Linked DNA regions of Homo sapiens: regions 2, 3 and 4 are each linked to region 1. The links are contacts of gene promoters, found by promoter capture Hi-C in blood cells and fetal thymus (Javierre and others, 2016). All regions are on one chromosome and are shown on one strand. Each heading gives the region's core, a stretch centred on a gene start or on the middle of the fragment in contact. The rest is flanking DNA. Distances are from core to core; before and after follow the strand shown.

What was found. Contacts are between HindIII fragments. The CHiCAGO score rates a contact against its expected background, and 5 or more counts as called.
Region 2: a contact is called between a fragment that was not itself captured here and the fragment with the promoter of FNBP4 in region 1, in 1 of 17 cell types (naive CD8 T cells). The highest score is 5.4, in naive CD8 T cells.
Region 3: a fragment that was not itself captured here is called in contact with the fragment with the promoter of FNBP4 in region 1 in 1 of 17 cell types (M0 macrophages); the score reaches 5.4 in M0 macrophages.
Region 4: a fragment that was not itself captured here is called in contact with the fragment with the promoter of FNBP4 in region 1 in 3 of 17 cell types (erythroblasts, monocytes and fetal thymus); the score reaches 9.0 in erythroblasts.

Annotation. Positions count from the first base shown.
Region 1 is chr11:47,765,579-47,769,118 of GRCh38, reverse strand. It overlaps FNBP4 (formin binding protein 4), which reads left to right and starts at 1,778. Exons shown (of 17, transcript NM_015308.5): 1 at 1,778-2,050. The coding sequence starts at 1,831. RefSeq lists a silencer at 1,764-2,373 and enhancers at 1,563-2,487, 2,634-2,693, 2,488-3,413. The HindIII fragment of the contact is 14,946 bases long and covers 1-3,540 here.
Region 2 is chr11:46,621,292-46,624,831 of GRCh38, reverse strand. The region is part of intron 1 of ATG13 (autophagy related 13); the gene reads right to left. Among named protein-coding and RNA genes, the nearest start is that of ATG13, 5.5 kb to the right of the region's middle. The HindIII fragment of the contact is 2,974 bases long and covers 401-3,374 here.
Region 3 is chr11:46,740,294-46,743,833 of GRCh38, reverse strand. CKAP5 (cytoskeleton associated protein 5) reads left to right here. Exons shown (of 44, transcript NM_001008938.4): 44 at 1-786. Among named protein-coding and RNA genes, the nearest start is that of MIR5582, 11 kb to the left of the region's middle. The HindIII fragment of the contact is 5,631 bases long and covers 1-3,540 here.
Region 4 is chr11:46,765,229-46,768,768 of GRCh38, reverse strand. CKAP5 (cytoskeleton associated protein 5) reads left to right here. Exons shown (of 44, transcript NM_001008938.4): 27 at 1,106-1,194; 28 at 3,513-3,540. Among named protein-coding and RNA genes, the nearest start is that of SNORD67, 4.5 kb to the right of the region's middle. The HindIII fragment of the contact is 1,839 bases long and covers 1,019-2,857 here.

The DNA.
Region 1 (3,540 bases), core at 529-3,028:
AAAATAAATTAATTAAAATTAAAATTAAAAAATTAGGCCAGGCACGCTGGCTCACACCTGTAATCCCAGCACTTTGGGAGGCCGAGGCGGGTGGATCACCTGAGGTCAGGAGTTCAAGACCAGCCTGACCAACATGGCAAAACCCTGTCTCAACTAAAAATACAAAAATTAGCCAGGCGTGGTGGTGGGCGCCTATTATCTCAGCTACTGGGGAGGCTGAGGCAGGAGAGTTGCTTGGACCCGGAGGGCAGAGGCTGCAGTGAGTCGAGATTGCGCCATTGCACTCCAGCCTGGGCAACAGAGCGAGACACCGTCTCAAAAAAAAAATGGCTTTAGCCCAGGAGTTTGAGGATGCAGTGGGCTATAATCATGCCACGTTACTCCAACCTGGATGACAGAGCAAGACACGTTTAAAAATAAAATTAGAAATAATCATTTTAAAAGATCAAATGCAATTCTACGTGTAAAGTGCTTGGTGACTGACACATAGAGCTCAGTAAGTATTAGATATTTTTAGTGGGAACTGAGCTGCTGCGGATATAAAAATAAATACCACTCGCATTCCTTAGTTTAGAGGGGAGACGGATGTCAACAGGATGTCAAGTGCCAGGGAGAGGCTGGGCAGGAGAGGTCACGCCTGCACTGCGTCTGCATTGCGCCCTGATGAAACAATAAAAGACTTTCATCATGTGATGCAGTAATTATTCCAGTCAGTGCAAAGGAAAAGTGAGGGAGGTGATGCTCCAAGTGGCGGGCTCCAGAGGCAGGAGACGGGAGAGGGGGCAGTGTTAAAGCAAGGGTAAATTAAAGCATGTTGACGATAGTAGTACAAAACTGGTAAGGTTCCTGTATGCCATCCCAACAATTTTAGGCTTTTTCCTTGTAGGTAGTGGAGTATCTCGTGATTTTTCCCAGCTAATAAGCGAGAAAATATGAGACATCTATTTGTGTGCTGCAGGAAATTACAAAAGCGTAAAAGACCCACTGTCCCATTTAATGTTCAATGCTATACCCAAAGTAAGCCACAATAATCCGGGCGAAACGTGGGGAAGGGCTCAGAAAACAGCACACCTTTCTTTTTTTTCTTGAGACAGTCTCACTCTGTCACCCAGGGTGGGGTGCAGTGGCGCGATCTCGGCTCACTGTAACCTTTGCCGCCGGGTTCATGCGATTCGCCTGCCTCAGTCTCCCGACTAGCTAGGATTACAGGCGCCTGCCACCGCGCCCGACTAAATCTTTTGTATTTTTAGTAGAGACGGGGTTTCACCATCTTGGACAAGCTGGTCTTGAACTCCTGACCTCGTGATCCACCCGCCTCGGCCTCCCAAAGTGTTGAGATTACAGGCGTGAGTGAGCTGGGCCCAGCAGCACACCTTTCTAGAAGACAGACAACATGAAACTCTAGGCCGAGAATAGCCACAAGATGGAGGACAAGTAGGCAAAGAAAAGGCTTGGGGAAAGCGCATGGGTGGAACCCGACGGAAGTGGGGAAGTCGTTCTAATTCAGGCCCTACCGCACTATTGGCTGGACTCTCACCCTTTTTCCTTTTCCATTGGCCACCGGTCCCTTCTCTGGGTCAAAACAGCCAATCGCCTAGCGCAGTTGGTAATCCCGCCCTTTCTCCTGGTGAGGAGGAGCCAGAAGAGCCGAAGGGTCCGAGGCGCTTGCGCAAGCGCGTGCTCCGCTGGTTGAAAGCGGATCCGGGCTGGAGGCGGTGTCACGGTGTATGAATATTGATTACGCGTCGCAGCGCCCAGGGCCCAGCGCCCAGCCTCCAGTGCCCGCCCCTCTCGGCCGCCCGACGCTCTCTGCTCGCGCTTGGGCTCGCGATGGGGAAGAAGTCCCGGGCGGTACCCGGCCGTAGGCCCATCCTGCAACTCTCTCCGCCGGGTCCTCGGGGCAGCACGCCGGGCCGGGACCCGGAGCCGGAACCCGACACTGAGCCGGACTCAACCGCGGCGGTCCCCAGCCAGCCCGCCCCGTCGGCGGCGACGACCACCACCACCGCGGTGACTGCCGCCGCGGCCTCGGACGACTCGCCTTCAGAAGGCAAGGGTGCGCGGGGGGACCTGAACTCGAGCTCAGGGCTTGCGGCCTAGGCTCCTCACGGCGCCTGGCCAGACCCGGCGAGGGAGGCGGGCGAGGTCGGCTTCCGAGGCCTGCCTGCTGCGGGCCTGCAGGCGGGGCGGCCCTGGGCTCCGGGCCGCAGAAGGGCCAGGCCGAGTTCTGCGCCCTCGGCCCGGGCCAAGCCCGAGGCGCCATCTGTGGTGCAGGGCTTGCCCCGGGAACGTTTGAAATATGACCGAAGTTCGGGCATCCTGAGTCTCCCAAACGCCCCGGGTCGGTTTTGGGTAACGCAGAGGGTGGATGTGAGGATGAGTTTCCGCGTGCGCGGCCTGTGACTGTGGGCCAGGCCTTTCCACACGTCATCTGCCTCCTTTCGGTTTTGTCGAAACGGGGATAGAGACGTTTAGAAAAAGCTCTTAATATTCCAGCTAGTAAGCATCCCCACACTAGCAGAACTGCTGGAGAAATGGAGCTGGTAGGTTCCTAAGTATTTGTGTGGTTCTCACTGGAGTGGTGCTTAGATTAAAAGTGACTCCAGGACTAGGCGCCGGAGAAGCCGCGACCGTTTCACATGTTCAGAGATCACGCTGGTTCGTTAATTGGAAAAAATCCGCAATAGCAGTGTTTGGTGTGTCTTGTAAAGGTCCTATCATAGCCTGGAGAATACTTACTGTTTTTGTATGTATTTGTAAGTATTGCAGATGTAACTTTTTAAGAGTTTTGTTTTGTTTTTTTCGAGACAATGTCTCAATCTGTCGCCCAGGCTGGAGTGCAGTGGCGCGATCTTGGGCTCACTGCAACCTCCACCTCCCGGGTTCAAGCGATCCTCCCGCCTTAGCCTCCTGGGTAGCTGGGACTACAGGACCCTGCCACCATGCCCGGCTAATTTTTGTATTTTCAGTAGAGACGGAGTTCATGTTTCCCGGGCTGGTCTCGAACTCCAGGGCTCAAGCGATCATTACAGGCGAGAGCCATCGCGCCCGGCCATGCAGATGTATTAATAATTTTTATTTACCATGGTAAGAGTCTTCCCTTGATGTTGAAGTTTGTAAGCAGATGAAAGACTCCAGGGCACGGTGACTCATGCCTGTAATCCCAGCACTTTGGGAGGCCGAGGTAGGCGGATTACTCGAGGTCAGGAGTTTGACCAGCCTGGGCGACAAGAGCGAAACTCCGTCTCAAAAAAAAAAAAAAAAAAAGATTCCAGCTCTGTGTTTATTATCTCCCAATTATTTGGGTCAATGAAATGTCCTTTCTTTTTTTTGAGATGGAGTCTTCCTCTGTGGCCCAGGCTGCAGTAACCTCTGCCTCCTGGGTTCAAGCGATCCTTCTGCCTCAGCCTCCCGAGTAGTTGGGATTACAAGCGAGTGCCATCATGCCTAGCAATTTTTTTATTTTTTGTATTTTTAGTAGAGATGGAGTTTCACCATGGTGGCCAGGCTGGTCTTGAACCCCTGACCTCAAGTGGCCCC
Region 2 (3,540 bases), core at 638-3,137, 1.1 Mb after region 1:
CAAACTCTTGCGCTCAGGCAATCCTCTCACCTCAGCCTCCCAAAGTGCTATGATTATTACAGCATGAGCAATCATGCCCAGCCAATGAGCTAATGAGCTGATTTTTTCAAGGGTGAGGGGGAACTTTCACCTTGGCCTGGACAACAATTGAAGAAACTGACTTCACATCCCTTCTGATGTGATGTATTACTTACATAGCTTTCTTGCTAAAACTGTATAACCTGAAACTAACCATGAGGAAGTGATTGGACAAGCTCAAATTGAAAGGCTGAAAATTTAATAATATAATGGGCTCGTCACTCTTCAAAAACGTCAGTGTTATAAAAGAACAAAAAAAAAAAAATCTGAAGATCCATTTTAGATTAAAGGAGAATAAAGTGTGACAACTAAATGCAAAGCTTGATGCTGGACCAGTTCCTGGATTTCTTAAAAAGTTTCTGTGAAGGACAGTACTGAAACAACTGGCAACATTTGAACCCAACTGTATACTAGGTAACAGTATTGCATCAATATTAAATTTCCTGAATTTGGCTGGTTGTGGTGGCTCACCTTTGTAATCCCAGCACTTTGGCAGGCTGAGGAGTGTAAACACTTGAGGTCAAGAGTTCGAGACCAGCCTGGCCAACATGGCGAAACCCTTTCTCTAGTAAAATACAAAAATGAGCCAGGTGTGGTGACGCATGCCTGTAGTCCCAGCTACTCAGGAGGCTGAGGCAGGAGAATCGTTTGAACCCAGGAGGTGGAGGTTGCAGGGAGCCGAGATTGCGCCACTGTACTCCAGCCTGGGTGACAGCGAGACTCCATCTCAAAAAAAAAAAAAATTCCTGAATTTGATAAAATTACATTTTGGTCCACATTCTTATTCATGAGATATAAGTAACATCTCTGAAGGGTTCAGAAAAAAAAAAAAGAATAAGAATGTGTAAATATAATGCAAAAATAATAGTTATACAATATATAGGAGAAAGAAAGTAATGTGGTAAAGAGTGAACAATGTGCAAATCTAAGGGAAGAGTACATAAAAATTCACTGTAATATTCTTCCAACTTTTCTGTAGATTTGAATTAAAAAAAATCAAATTAACAAATAAAAAAACTAGTTGCCAGCCAGGCACGGTGGCTCAGGCCTGTAATCCCAGCACTTTGGGAGGCCAAGGCGGGCAGATCATCTGAGGTCAGGAGTTCGAGACCAGCCTGGCCAACATGGTGAAACCCCATTTCTACTAAAAATACAAAAATTAGCCGGGTGTGGTGGTGCACACCTGTAATCCCAGCTACTTGGGAGGCTGAGGCAGGAGAACTGCTTGAACCCGGGAGGCAGAGGTTGCAGTGAGCCAAGACTGCGCCACTGCACTCCAGCATAGGTGACAGAGTGAGACTCTGTCTCAAAAAAACAAAAACAAAAACAAAAAAACAAAACTAGTTGCCATCATATGGTCCATAATAGAGTGGAGAAAAACTTTCACCCAGCATAAATGTCTTCTAAAATTAGGTCTCTTTCTTTATGGACGTACTTCAAATGCACTTTTTCTTTTCTTTGAGACGGGGTCTTGCTCTGTTGCCCAGACTGGAGTGCAGTGGCACAATCTCGGCTCACTGCAAACTCCACCTCCCAGGTTCGTGCCATTCTCCTGCCTCAGCCTCCAGAATAGCTGGGACCCCAGGTGCCCGCCACCACACACGGCTAATTTTTTTTTTTTGTATTTTTAGTAGAGACAGGGTTTCACCGTGTTAGCCCGGATGGTCTCCCGACCTCGTGATCCGCCCGCCTTGGCCTCCCAAAGTGCTGGGATTACAGGCATGAGCCACGGCACCCGGCCCAAATACACTTTTTCAAACAGCTAGAATGATGACTCTAGCTGTACTTCCAAGATTTCATCACAGCATATCCTTGCCTTAGAATGAAGGTGGCACTTGAACCACGGCCAGTCCACTACAGCCAAATCTAAAAGAAATATATACATACAGTGTATATAAACAAAATTGCACCCCGAAGATGACAGAGTTTTGTCACAGCTTGTGAATTCTGTTCAACAAGTGTTGGAATCTAATCTGCTTTGCCCCTAAAATAGCATTTACAAGTTTTGGATATGAAAAACAGAAGAGAGAAAAATACACATTATAAAAGCAGAACATACGTGTATCAGTTTTTGGATACTAAATGACAGCCTTGTTTCTCCCCTTTGATTCAGCAGACACCATGGATTATATTTTTTTCCCTTCAGTAGTCAGCAGTTTGAATGTACAGAGAAAATGGACTTACAAAAACTTTCCGCAGTAGTTTGTTCTTGCTTTAAAATTTTGTTTTTGGTTTAGATGATGAATGCATGAAGTAAGGGAGTGAATCAGTTTCTTGTTTATATTTTTTTCACTTTTAAACAACAAAAAATTATTTAAAATATTTTAATGCATTCTTGGCCAGGTGCGGTGGCTCACGCCTGTAATCCCAGCACTTTGGGAGACCGAGGCAGGCGGATCACGAGGTCAGGAGATCGAGACCATCTTGGCTAACATGGTGAAACCCCGTCTCTACTAAAAATATAAAAAATTAGCCAGGCATGGTAGTGGGCGCCTGTAGTCCCAGCTAGACGGGAGGCTGAGGCGGGAGAATCGCTTGAACCTGGGAGGTGGAGGTTGCAGTGAGCCAAGATTGCTTCACCGCACTCCAGTCTGGGAAACAGGGCAAATACCATCTCTAAAATAAATATATATATATATATATATATATATATATATATATATATATATATATATATGTAAATAAATAAATCTCTGAAGTGGCCTTTCATCAACAGGGTGGACTGAACTGATGCTGTCAGTTCCCCCTCCCACTACAAACACATAAAGATGTAGATAAAATGACAATAAAAATGTTCGGACACACAGCTGAACTAGAAAAATGGTAGATATTCCAGATTCCATAAAGAGTACAATCAAAGCTATAGATGTAAGGAAAATCTGATGCCAGGGAACCGAGGCCTGTGAGGGACAAGGGTTAGGTCCTTTTGACAAACACATGAGAGTAAGAATAGGGTTGGGAGATATGACCTTAACCTTATAGGTAGGTAAAAGCCCTGTACCCTGCATAAAGCCCAACAGCCAAGTGCTCCTTTCCTTGATCACAGATGCTCAAAGAAGCCTGGAGAAGCCACAAAGAGGTTTGCCATCTATCATGGCAATGTTGAGAGGTGGGCAAGTTGCTCCCAAAATATTAAAAGCACAAGTCAGAAGAGCACATAAATGTAAGATCCATAATCAAACTACCTACATGCATAAGGAAATGAAAACCCAAGAAATTAACCTAAAAATTAGTGTAGAAACACTGAAACCCCAAGAAACAGGTAGAAACAAGACTGAATAGTATTGGGAGAAGCTTTCACAGTTCTGAATCCACAGCCTGCTGCCAGTACACACCGATAACTCTTCCCCCTAACTCTGAAGTAGACAAATTCATCATTTTATAAACTACAGACTTCATGTAAAAAGAAAGTATCAACAACTCAAAATAATAAACAAATATGGCTGGGCGCGGTGGCTCACA
Region 3 (3,540 bases), core at 648-3,147, 1.0 Mb after region 1:
GCTCTAGAAGACTGTCCGTGGATGAGTTTAGTGTACAGACTTGTAAACAGCTGCCCCCTCTCTGCTCAGTCTAGTTCCCAGATCCTTTTCTTTTCTTTTTAATTGCTCATTTGTAAAATTGTCCTAATCTTTCCTAGCTTTTTAATAGTTAATATTAGAAACTCTTTAATAGTTTTCCTTTCAGTTTGTGAGCTCTTCTCTGTCGCCCTGAAGGGTCACTGTATTCTGTATGAATGCATGGCATGATACAACTAATTTAAGAGTCTTTTATAAATAAAGTTTGCATTAACTATACCTGACTCCCAAGATGCTCCATATCATGGAGTGTTGGGCAGCAATTTTTTAACTTTTGGTACCAGCTGGGTATTCAGCCAGTTAGAGAAAGGTTAATTACTGCTTACAGAGCTTCCCTTTTTCTTGGCTCACAGACTTGGAGCTGTCTTTTATTCCTTTGGAATGGAAGGAACTCTCCTTCCCTGCTCTCCACAAACAGCTCCTAGGGAGCAGAAAAATCTCATCCTTCCTTGTTTTGAGATTTTGGTCATGATTTCCCTCCAATTATCACCAGTCGTTTCAAGAAGCTCTTGGGCATCCTACCACTTTGCTGACCAAAGGCACACAAGATTGCGCCCAGAGATTGGCTGGGCTTCAGTGGTTCTCACACTACAACTAGATTTGTGTTCATTTGACTAATGGAGTTTGGGAAATCTTAGTGGTTTGCTGCTTGGTTGTATGAGTCTCTTTTGGTCCAGGCTAACAGTTGCTTCACATTCAGTCAGAGTAAGGATGAGAAAGTGAGCTGAGTATTCACCTCTGGAATAAATTCCACAGGACCTCCCTCCACAGTCAGAAAAACTCTTCAGGATGAAAAGGTTCTGGATTCAGGAGGAGATTTTGGGCAGTTATAAAGTTCAAAGGAACTTTCCTATTGTAGCCCACCTTCAATTCAATTGATGTCCAAGAAATGAAAGATTGATGGAAGATTAATCCTGTAAAGGTTCCAGTCATCGTTTTCAGGTGGCCCCGGAGCCTCCTGAAATTAAACTTGTCTCTCCTTTATAGTGGGAACATGGGAGTGGGTATTTGTTCACTGAAGGGATGATGGAGGCGTTTGCTGCTATAGTGGAAAGACATATTTAGAAAGAATGGCTACAAAGGCTGGGCCTGGTGGCTCACTCATACAACCGTAGCATTTTGGGAGGCTAAGGTGGGTGAATCACTTGAGCCCAGGAGTTCAAGACCAACATGGGCAACATGGCTCTACCAAAAAAATACAAAAATTAGCTGGGTATAGTGGCTCAAGCCTGTAGTCCCAGCTACTTGGGAGGCTGAGGTGGGAGGATCACCTGAGCCCAGGAGGTCAAGGCTGCAGTGAGCCGTGATCACTCCACTACACTCCAGCCTGGGCAACAGAGCAAGACCTTGTCTCAAAAAAGAGGAGGGAAACAAAAGAAGAGGAAAAAAAAGAGTGGCTGTACTCCTGTCTGGAATTAGCACAGCTGACTGGAAAAACCCAAGTCCCTAGAGCTTACAACACTGACCGCTATGTCGGAAGAAAACAGACTTATGAGAATGTGTGTTCTTGTTTAAAAAGCAGGTCCTGCATGTCACAAGTAATTCTGAATCCCTTCCCCCTTGATCGAGTTGATGCCCTGGGCTGCCAAATCCTGCAAGCTCACTGCCTTTCAGTCAACCAGAACCAAAGAATGAGGCCAAGGAACTCTGTCCTGTTTGTTTTCTGATGTGTTGAAAAATGAGAAAAAAAAAAAAAAACGTTATGAGGAGGGTGCTAAAGATCCCTATCTCAGGTCCCTTCCCGTGGAAAACCACGTTAGAAGATCCTAGGCCAGGTACTGTAGCCACAGGGTTTCCCTGCTCCACTCCACTATCCTGTGCCTGAGGCAGACGTTGATCTTCATTCTTTCCCTGAGCTCATGGATGAGACTTCTCAAGACGGAGCCATGCTCCATCCCACACCTGTGACCTCTGCCAACAGTAACCGTGAAGAATGTGCTCTGAAAGGGTATCTTTGAAGTTCTATGATTCTTTTTTTTGCAAGGGACTCTTGCTGTGTCGCTCAGGCTGGATGGCATGCAGTGGCATGCCTCTCTCCTCACTACAACCTCTGCCTCCTGAGTTCAGCCAATTCTCCTGCCTCAGCCTCCCAAGCAGCTGAGAAGCTGGGATTACAGGTGCCCACCACCACACCCGGCTAGTTTTTGTATTTTTAGTAGAGACGGGATTTTACCATGTTGGCCAGGCTGGTCTCCAACTCCTGACCTCAGGTGATCCACCAGCCTCAGCCTCCCAAAGTGATGGGATTACAGGCGTGAGCCACCATGCCCAGCCCATGACTCTTATAACTTAGAGGTCCCATTTCTTGGAAAAATAAATTGTTCCAGCTGGGAACTGCTGTGTGAGGAAACATTCCAGGAAGCAACTACCCCACTGATGGGCTATTTCCAGGGCCCAAGAGAGGGACGAGGTAAGCGGCAGAGGAACTTTCAACAGGCCCAATGCCCGGTCCAGTTCCCAGGCAATAGTGAGAATACGAGTGGTAGTGATTCACAGCTTACTAGGCACTAGGCATTGTGCTAAGGCACCATGTAAGTTCTTTCATTTAATCCTCATAACCGTATGAGGTAAGTAATGTCGTTATATACACCTTTTAATATACAGGTGGCCTTCCAGATCTGTGGGTTTTGCATCTGCAGATTCAACCAACTGCAGATTGAAAATATTTGTGGGGAAAGAAAACAATAAAAATAATACAAATTTTAAAATAATACAGTATAACTATTTACATAGTATTTACGTTCTATTGGGTGTAAGTCATCTAGAGATGATTTGAAGTATATGGGAAGGCCGGGCAGGGTGGCTCATGTCTGTAATCCCAACACTTTGGGAGGCCCCGATGGGTGGATAACCTGAGGTCAGGAGTTTGAGACCAGCCTGACCAACACGGTGAAACCCCATCTCTACTAAAAATACAAAAACTAGCCAGGCGTGGTGGCGGGCACCTGTAATCCCAGCTACTCGGGAGGCTGAGGCAGGAGAATCACTTGAACCTAAGAGGCGGAGATTGCAGTGAGCCGAGATCGCACCATTGCACTCCAGCCTGGGCAATGAGCAAAATTCCAACTCAAAAAGATAAAAATAAATTTTAAAAATGAAGTATATGGGAGGATGTGCATAGGTTATATGTAAACTGTGCCATTTTATATAAGAGATTTGAGCATCTGTGGATTTTGGTATGCATGGTTGGTTCTTCTTCTTTTTGAGACAGAGTCGCTCTGTCGCCCAGGCTGGAGTGCAGTGGTGCAATCTTGTCTCACTGCAAGCTCCACCTCCCAGGTTCATGCCATTCTCCTGCCTCAGCCTCCCACGTAGCTGGGACTACAGGCGTCCACCACCACGCCTGGCTAATTTTTTGTATTTTTGGTAGAGACAGGGTTTCACCGTGTTCACCAGGATGGTCTCAATCTCCTGACCTTGTGATCCATCCACCTCAGCCTCCCAAAGTGCTGGGATTACAGGCTT
Region 4 (3,540 bases), core at 689-3,188, 1.0 Mb after region 1:
CTCTACAAAAATTACAAAAATTAGCTAGTCTTGGTGGCGCACACCTGTGGTCCCAGCTACCCAGGAGGCTGAGGTGGGAGGATCGCTTCAGCCCAGGAGGTTGAGGCTTCAATGAGCCACGATCGCACCACTGCACTCCAGCCTGGGTGAGCCAGAACTAGTCTCAAAAAAAAAAAATTTTACCTGTGTAAAACTCTTTATTAAAGTACATATTCAGTTTTTATTGAAATCTTGCTATGTAGCAGATACTGAATATCAAAGATGTCTTTACCTTTAAGAAAGTATCAGTCTGGGCTGGGCATGGTGGCTCACGCCTGTAATTCCACCACTTTGAGAGGACAAGGAGGTCAAGACCAGCCTGGGCAACATAGTGGGACCCTGTCTCTAAAAAAAAAAAAAAAGTTGTTTTAATTAGTTGGGCTTGGTGGTGCACGCCTGTAGTCCCAGCTATTCAGGAGGCTGAGGTAGGAGGACTGTTTTAGCCAGGGAGGTCAAGGCTGCAGTGAGCCCTGAACGTGCTATTGCACTCTAGTCTGTGTGACAGAAACCCTGTCTAAACAAACAAATGAAACTACAGTTTAAATGTTGGTAAATGAGATACAGATTTTCTGAATTAATTTCTCTCTTACGCTTAAAGATTTTGGGAGAAAAATTATTAGGAAAAAAAAATCTAAGCCAGGCACAGTGACTCACGCCTGTAATCCCAGCACTTTGGGAAGCCAAGGTGGGTGGATTGCTTGAGCCCAGGAGTTTGAGACCAGCCTGGGCAACATGGCGAAACCCTGTCTCCACAAAAATTACAAAGAAAATTAGCTGGGTGCGGTGGCACGGGCCTGTAGTCCCAGCTACTAGGGAGGCTGAGGTGGGAGAATTCATTGAGCCCAGGAGGTCAGGACTGCAGTGAGCACCGTGAAGGCACCACTGTACTCCAGCCTGGGAGATAGAGCAAAATCCTGTCTCATAAAAAAAAAACTAACTGAAAACATCTTATAAATTGATACATTTAAGACTGCAAGCTTCCTTGTCATCATTATATATTTAACCTGTCCAAAATAAAATGATATTAGTTAAAGTTTATAGTATATATATATTTTTTTCCTCAAAGCACCTGCTGAAGATTGTATTTCCAGCAGTACAGAACCCAAACCTGATCCAAAAAAGGCCAAAGCTCCAGGATTATCCTCTAAAGCAAAGGTATGTTAACTCTGTATACTTCGATGTAGACTTGCTTTTAAATATATTTTATATACTGAGTCATTCTATTAGGAAGGATCATATTATATATAAAAGAACATCACTGCTGTTGATATTATCAAATTATTTATACAAATTTCTGTGGTTCATTTTTAATAAGGTCCTAAAACGGAGACATCCTGCTCTCAAGAGGTGCTGTCATCTTCCTTTCATGTAGATTTTCGGGGAAAGATTTACTTTATTGAAAGAAGAAAGGGCCGGGCACAGTGGCTCACGCCTGTAATCCCAGCACTTTGGGAGGCCGAGGCAGGCGGATCACCTGAGGTCAGGAGTTCGAGACCAGCCTGGCCAACATAGCGAAACCCTGTCTCTCCTAAAAATACAAAAATTAGTTGGGCATGGTGGCACACCTGTAATCCCAGCTACTTGGGAAGTTGAGGCAGGAGAATCGCTTGAACCCAGGAGGTGGAGGTTGCAGTGAGCCAATATCTCGCCATTGCACTCCAGCCTGGATGACAGAGCGAGACTCAGGAAAAAAAAAAAAAAGGAGAAAGCATTTGTAGCTCTGGCATAATAAACACTTTAGGCTGATTTGGATTTAAGAAAAGGAAGTTAAATCAACCTCCTTCAAATTTGGCACTGTTGTCATCATATTAGAAGATGTTTCGGTTAGTCTGCAGGGAAATATCTTTTGTCCCAGTGGGATTTATTTTGATGCATCAGCAATTCTTTCAATATTCATGGAGAGTTGGACAATTTAAAGCAGTGTGTTCAAATGTTCAACTTTATCCTCTGGGTGATTTTTTCATTTAATTAAGTTTTAAAATCACAGTAAATTGTCATTATCTCTATCAAGATTGAGATTAATAAACATATTCAGAGTGTTAATTATTTAACACTTACAAAAGGAAAATTGCAAAACTGTGCAATGGGTAATGAATCTAATAGTAAGTCTAAATAGAGAATTATTTAATTTACTTCCTGTAATTGATGAAAAAATATAGAGAATGTTTTTTAACCAGTACATGTATTATTACACCCCCATTTTGGAGTACACACTCTAGGGCCTTTCTTCTAAATATTACAATTAACCATTTTTCTTCCCTATGCTCAGGCCCTTTAACTCCTCAGTGAATTAATTTAAATGGGTAATTATCTTCAACTATCCAATGACGTTGTTCTTTTCCTGTCTGCCTGTCCTCATCCCAAATTTAACAAGTGCTTATTTTAGTTTAGATCACGAGTGTTTTGCAGTATTTTTGACTCCGTTCTTAATGCCATAATTTTTTTCCCAATCTTTTTAAACTTACGAAGCAGTTTCATATAAATGATCTCATATTTGTTTGGTCTGAATGACATTAGTGTTTATACTAGAAAGAAATTGTGGCCAACTAGAAATAGTGGCCATGCTACATTTATAATAATAATGATTCCAGTAATGAAATTTGAATTTTACCTTAAATATGTGTACTATTGTTTACTATTTTCTTTCTATCTGATATGAAGATTTTAAATCTTGGATTATTTTTTAAAACCACTTTAGTGACTTAAATATTTAAAGCATTTCTTGTAACTTTCTCTAGAAGCAAGTTCAAAAGGTCTTCAGTTACACTGTTATGATAAGAGATACATTTAAATATCAATGGAAAGAAACAGAAAAGCTTTCAAACTAAGTGTTTGGAAATGTGTAAATGCCATTCAAGATGTCATTAATGGCTGAGGTGGGTGGATCACTTGAGGTCAGGAGCTCGAGACCAGCCTGGACAACATGGTGAAACCCTGTCTCTACTAAAAATACAAAAATTAGCCAGGGGTGGTGGTGGGCGCCTTTGGTCCCACCTACTGAGGAGGCTGAGTCAGGAGAATCACTTGAACCTAGGAGGTGGAGATTGCAGTGAGCTGAGATCACGCCACTGCACTCCAGCCTGGGCGACAGAGTGAGACTCCGTCTCAAAAAAAAAAAAAAAAAAAAAAAGATGTCATTAATATGGAAAGCTATAAATAGTGTTGAAGATTTCAAGAAAACAAAAACAAAAAGTTTGTGACCTAGACTAATGATCAGTAATAGCAGTTTTTCCAACTACATAACATGCCAGTCCAAGAACTAACCAACAGTTACTTAAGAATATTCTCAGAAAAATTTCTAGAGAACCTGTTCAAAAACATATACAAGATTCTGTGATGCATGTTTTTTTCATGTGAAATATCACGTAGAAAGATATCTCTGTTTTCTACAGTGCCCTTTTACTGGGCAGCAGCATCATATTCTTAAGGAGAAGTGGCCAAGCTAATCAGTATTCCCTGAACCTTGGTTGTAGAGTGCACAAGGGAAGAAGATGCCAAGCA